2 separate regions of the Homo sapiens genome follow, and region 2 is linked to region 1. Evidence: promoter capture Hi-C in human tissues and cell types (Jung and others, 2019). All regions are on one chromosome and are shown on one strand. The core of a region is centred on a gene start or on the middle of the fragment in contact, and the rest is flanking DNA. Distances in the headings are between cores, read along the strand shown. Region 1 holds the start of PDE3A (phosphodiesterase 3A). Region 2 overlaps LOC105369686 (a long non-coding RNA gene).

Region 1 (3,099 bases), core at 161-2,660:
ACCGCGCTAGTCAAGGCGATCATGAGGACGCCCAGCCTCAGCCTCAGCACCAGCCATGTCGCGGCGGCCAAGCAGCTGAGCACCACCCCCGCGGCGGGGAGTGAGAGTAAGTGATCCTCCCCGACGCCCAGCCCAATCTGGACGAGCGCTTCCCCCCCGCAGCAGGCGGCCAGCAGCGCGACAGCCAGAGGCAGGCGCACCCCGGCGCGCAGGAGGTACAAGCCCATCCAGAAGAAGGCACACAGGAGACTGAAGAGCAGCGCCGAGGGCTGCAGCCAGGGGCTGAGCCGCGCACCGCCCCCGGGAGCACCTCCCCGAGGCCCCGGGAAGACGCCCCCTTCTGCTCCCGGGGCTGCTTCCTCCTCCTCCGCCGCCGCCGCCTCCTTACACTGCTCCAGGTCACAGCCGACCTCCCCGCGGACCAGCCTCACCAGCAGCGCCAGCAGAAAGGACAGGGAGCCCGCGCACAGCGCGGAGGAAAGTTTCCGAGAGCTCCGGAGCGGCTGCAGCACCAGGTCTCCCCAGCAGCCACGGCAGCCCGAGTCCCGCGGCGATGCGGGGTCCGCACGATGGTGGCAGTCCCGGCCCGCCGTGGGGGCTTGACTCACCCCACTGTGGACGGGCTTGTCCCTGACTCGTGCAGCGTCGCCGGGCACTGCCATGGTATAGGGTGCCCTCTTCACTGAATTCCCAGTGGCCCCCCGACGCCCCCGCCCCGACCCACGCGCGCGCGCGCACACACACACACACACACACGCACGCACGCTCTTCCCAATTCCACCCTCGGAATCCTTCTTCTCCCCAGGCCCACAATCCACTGAAAGTTTCAGCTTTCGAATAACTCCTGGAGAATGCTAGATGCTCCAATGAGACTTCTTCAAGTTAAAGGCTAGCACGCTCAAGTTGAAAACAAGCACGGGCAGAAACGATCAGGATTCCCCTTTTCTCTCTTTGAATATCTTTCACAGATTCTCTGCTCCACCCCCACCCCCGACTTATATCCTCCGGGGTCTCTTCCTACTTCAGGATTTCAAAAATTGCCCAATGCATCCCGCGCGCAGGAGCCGCTGACGCTGGAGGAGCCGGGGGCGCAGGGCGGGCTCCGGGCCATTCCGAGGCGCAGCTCGGCGCTGCGCTGCGCTGCAGCGCGCCGGGCCCGCGGCAGATGGAGGTCTCCCTTCTCCTCCTTCCTGCAGCTCTTTTTCTATCACTCTTTCTTTCTCCTCGGCCGATTCTCCCCGGCACGGCCCCAGGACGCGAATCGCCATTCCCTGGGGCAGAAAGCAAAGCCTCCCCCGCCTCTGTCAATCCAATTCATGGCAAAGGATGGAAAAAAAAAAATGGACAAGGGGCTGAGAAATAAGAAGTTGCTAAGTCCCGTCGGAGAGAGAGCCAGACCGAGAGACTAGCGGCAGCCGCAGAAGGGAGGGAGGGAGAAGGAGCGAGTAAGAGAGGAAGGGAGGGTGAGAAGAAAGGGAGGGTGAGAAGGGAGAAGGAGATTTGCTTTTTTTTTCCCTCCCCACTTCTATTTGATGCAAGGTTGGTGGTGATTTGCAGTTTTGCAAAGGGGAAACGAGTGGCGACGACTGCTTAAAATTGTATAAAACTGGCAACTGGAGTGATCGACAATTCCGCTTTCTTTCTTTAAGGCAACTCCCTAGGAAAGCTTTCTCAGCCGAGCTCCCGCCCCCTCCTGCGGAGGAGGCGCTACCCTCAGCTCGATTGCTCCTTTGCTGGGAAAGCGGCCGGTTCACCCTACAGGCTGGAGCAGGGGCTGCTGAGGCTGATCCACCGCGCAGCCCACCGCAGCCCCGGGGTGTGGGGGGCTGCGGCTAGCCCTGAGGCTGAGCTCCCTAGAACGTTGGAAGGAAAAAAAAAAAAAAAAGATTGTGTTTGCCTACTTGGCAGATGAGAGCCAACATACTTTCTACTGTCCCTGAAAATGACAGCCACTTCTACTGTCTGATTCAAAGATGTTCCCAAGTCAGGTACAACAGCAGTCCAATTTCAGGTGACAGTGTCATCCTTTGGTCGCTCCTGCTGGAAGGTCTGCTTTATGAGAACCCAAGCCTGGCCTGTTGGTTCAAATGATGGAAGAATCAGCCTTACCTAGACCACAATAGTATAAAAAGAAAGGAAGGAGAGGCAGCAGTCATTTAAATCCAGTGCATGAGTATTACACAATAGTTTTTGACTGTGGAAAGTAAAATTACATTGAGATTAAGTGACCGTATCCTCAAAAAAGGTTAACAAAGTTTAAAAGCCCAGATAGTTCATCAAAAAATAAAGAAAAATCTCAAGGGAGAGGTGAGGATAGGTGGGTTAACACTAGGAGAGATCTTAGAAGACTGTCTATGGCTGCAAAATACTACATCTTCGAGCAAAGCATATGAAAAAAATCAGGACCTTAGTTATTAATGAGTAAAGGTTCGTGTACTGCAGCAGTGTGATATTTGAGAAACTAAAAGAAAATTTTCAAGCTAACCTTTTTTTGGCAGATTATGAAAAAGAATTCAGTATCTGTTCAATGGACTTAAACTCTATTGATGTTCCCTGGGATCTAGTTGTCTTTTTAATATGATACTCCACTTTTAACATGGCTATCTTAGATGTCATTTGCCCTCACTAATAATAATCTTAATAATCCAATTTTGTCTTAATTATCTTGACATTCCAGGTTAAAGTGTATTTACAGCCTAGAGCATTTAGATAATTGATTCAATATGCCACTGTATTTTGTATGTAGACATGAAGCAATAAAAAAAGCCAAAAGGAGATCCTTGAGATAAAATTAATTTATGGGGACAGGGGGAGAAGATGACTTAAGTTTTAAACAGCTTCATGGGAAGCAGCCTGTTCTAGTAGAAGGCAGATATACTATAAAGGTATAGCTTCTCTCTGTCAGATGTCCAGAATTGTGCTACCACACAGGAGTATGAGTTGGGCAGCTAGTCAATGGCAGTGGGCACCATCTGTTTAATAATTAAGGAAACAGGAGCAGCAATGTCTTTGCCAAAGACAAATGAGCCCCCTAGCACGCACACATACTTTCATGAGTTTCCTTTTTAGACATATGATTCATATGCCAGATCCTACCTG
Region 2 (3,099 bases), core at 307-2,806, 160 kb after region 1:
TAAAAATTCTCATGTCCGTTAAAGCTGCTAATACAGATTCGATTTGATTTTCTAAATTTCAAAAGTCATGTTTCTTATTTTCTGGTTTTCTCTCTACTGAAACTTTAGAGAAATATCATGAAATGTTTTGTTAAACAAATCATTTGGCATTCTGTAAACTGAAAAACCCAGTTAAACTGAATTTAAACATTTTGAAACCTTATTTATGTCAAACTGATTTACCACTGAGGCTTTATGTGTTCTTATCTCTCAGATCTTCTCCAGCAAGGCAAGTCCTTTGATTTAAGCCTGAGAGTTGTAAACGTAGTCATAAGATTTCTTTTAAAAGTGCTTCCAAAACATTGTTAATCTTAAAATATACTCTTCACGTAGTGTGGCTTCCATATTCAAATGCTAACCAAAGAGACTGCTTTATGCTAGAAGCTCTTGGCTTGAAACTCTACTTAGTAACTTGGATTACAAATAAGTAATTGTGTGTTCAATTATACACACTTAGAGAAAAGGTAGAGGCAGCAATAATTATCTACATGAAATTAGACCTAAATTTTACAGGGAAACACTGCTAGTTTCCTGTGAAAATCCACTTCTAAAACAGATATAACAACAGCATGCAAACCCATACACTTAAATGAATATCCACTGAAATGAATATCCACTGACAGAACACGTTCCCAATTTAGTTTTAAAGGAATCATGGGAAACACTTTATAGGTTCATGCATGAAGGCAATAGATAGGGCAGTTTATTATTTTGAAGCAGGTAGCACATAACCTGAAACTGCAGTTTTCATGATTTCAGAAGAGACAAAGTATACCCTATGTGTAGCTCAGGGTGACTTGGAATGAAGCCAAAATACACAGCACTAGAGTTCTCAGGGTTAAATCATCATATACTATCAATCTGAACAACAGTGATTTAAGTCATTCGCCCTGTAAGCAACTTAGAAAGAAACTCAAGTAAAGCTGGTTAGAACAAGTCCAACATTGTTTTTAGGAAAGTAAAAATGTGGGAATTTAGTATTTTAGAAAAACTCTGAAGTATACATCTAAACACATTCAGTGTCTAATCTTTAATAATAAATAATAATAAAGTCAGATCTTTAATAATGGCTCATTTAGGTGCTTTAGAAGGTTTTCTGCCACATATTTAAAATACTTATTTCTAACCTAGCAAAAAGCAACATAACAAACAATTGAAGTTAGTCAACCCTTAACTCCAAAATAAGCTGAATGCTAAAAACATAATTTAGTATTTTTAAAATACTTTATACATTTGAATTTATATTTTAAAAAAACTCAGTCTTGTTTAGAAAGTTGAAGAAGTCTTGGCTTAATGACTATTTTTTTAAGTCAGTTAATAGGGAAGCAACTGGAACACACTACAAACATCTGGTGGTAATCAAATAAATGTACCTTTTTAAAATACTTGTACCCATAGCTCTGAGGGATTTTGTTGTTCATCAGCGGAAACCCTTTTTTAACAACTACATTTGATTCCCCACAATCATTCATGCTCGCAAACATCCAAACCAAATGTGAATAAATATTTTCATCCTGTATTAGCAATATTATAAAGGCCTCGGCGTGATAATGAAGTGAGAAACATTTACTGGCATACCAGAGTGGTGTAAAAATAGTAGTAACCTTTGACAACAAAAAGCTTAGTCAATTCCCAGTGACAGTTGCTTTCTGCATCAAAGATAAAATCAACATTACCTTAGAAATCATAAGATGCTACAACCTAAAATGGTATTTACCTTGAAACGTATAAAACAGAAAGCACTTTTAGTGAGAAGAATTTAATCATTTTTGCATGCATCATGGCATAATATTTGAAACTTCAGGCATATTGCTAAAACTGCACCTCTGAAGGAGTTACATGTTTTGTTGAAATGTACGGTATTTAATTAGGTTAAATTAATTAACTATTAGGTAGTACCAATTACCATTTATCTTAATTCTTTGGAAAAAATAAACATTGTAATAAAACAATTAGAGGGATGATTACACAAATTCATATCAGTCCCTTCAAAACTGACTACTTGTTCATAAGATCATAACCCTGGGCTTTGCCCTTTGATAAGTAGGATGGCAATTATCCTAAGATTTTTGTTTGATAACCTCTAAGAATCAGTAAGAAGAAAGTTTTTTCCTTATGCTAACTGAACTGCAAAGCAGATAAGAAATGCACTTCATTGTTACATTGTTTAAAACCTTAATTCATCATCCCTAAAAATGGGAAAAAATTCAAAGTTAATTTACTGGAACACAATCAAGTGTCCTATAATGCTAAGAAATAGGTATTATACTTCTACACTTGGCTTTTTTGATGACTAGCTGTGAATCTGAAAAACTTGTTAAGCCATTTAACTGCCAAATCTTTAACTTCACAAACTACATGATGTAAAAATAGATGAGAATTATATATGTAGTGTGTAAAAATTCTCATAAAAAATGAACTGTGTAAAATGCTGTAAAAATCAAGTTTAAGAAAATGGTTATTTTAATGGAAAAATATATATTGACAGAAATCCTTTTAAAATAATAGAAAGATATCCCGAAAGGCAAAGTGTATATTTTGGCCAAATAAAATACAATTTCAGAGATATATACACATTCAGAAAAAGGTTTAAAGTTTTAATATTGGTATCACAACCGTATTTTCTTTCATGGTACTGTATTTGGTATAAAGAATATAAAGGAATAAATGTCAGTACTCTGAAAACTACAAGTGAATTTAGAGAGATATACCTAGTTAATAGGTCAGAAGGCTTGATAATATTAAGACATCAGTTTTTCTCAAATTGATCTATAATTCCACACAACCATATAAAATTCTCAACAGGGGTTTCCTTTTGCTTTTATTTTGTGAAAGGATTTGACAAACATTATAAGATTCTCTTGAAGAATATAAGGGATATAGAATAGACAAAACCTTGAAAAAGAACAAAATTGGAGGGTTAATAACACCTGATTTCAAAACTTATTATAAAGTTGTGGTAATCTAAGTCAGTGTGGCATTGGCATGAAGATAGACATATCAATGGAACAGAATAGAGCATCCAGAAATAGACCCACACAGAAATATTTTTTTTTCACA

The links. The method cuts DNA at HindIII sites, captures the fragments that hold promoters and counts their contacts. A contact is called where the count stands out against the background at its distance.
Region 2: a fragment that was not itself captured here is called in contact with the fragment with the promoter of PDE3A in region 1 in 2 of the 25 tissues and cell types used here (H1 embryonic stem cells and bladder).

What each region holds. Positions count from the first base shown.
Region 1 is chr12:20,366,848-20,369,946 of GRCh38, reverse strand. It overlaps PDE3A (phosphodiesterase 3A), which reads right to left and starts at 1,410. Exons shown (of 16, transcript NM_000921.5): 1 at 1-1,410. The coding sequence starts at 662. PDE3A-AS1 (PDE3A antisense RNA 1) reads left to right here. Exons shown (of 2, transcript NR_186033.1): 1 at 1-106. RefSeq lists a silencer at 78-372. The HindIII fragment of the contact is 7,833 bases long and covers 1-3,099 here.
Region 2 is chr12:20,203,801-20,206,899 of GRCh38, reverse strand. All of the region lies in intron 1 of LOC105369686 (a long non-coding RNA gene), which reads right to left. Among named protein-coding and RNA genes, the nearest start is that of LINC02468, 77 kb to the right of the region's middle. The HindIII fragment of the contact is 8,249 bases long and covers 1-3,099 here.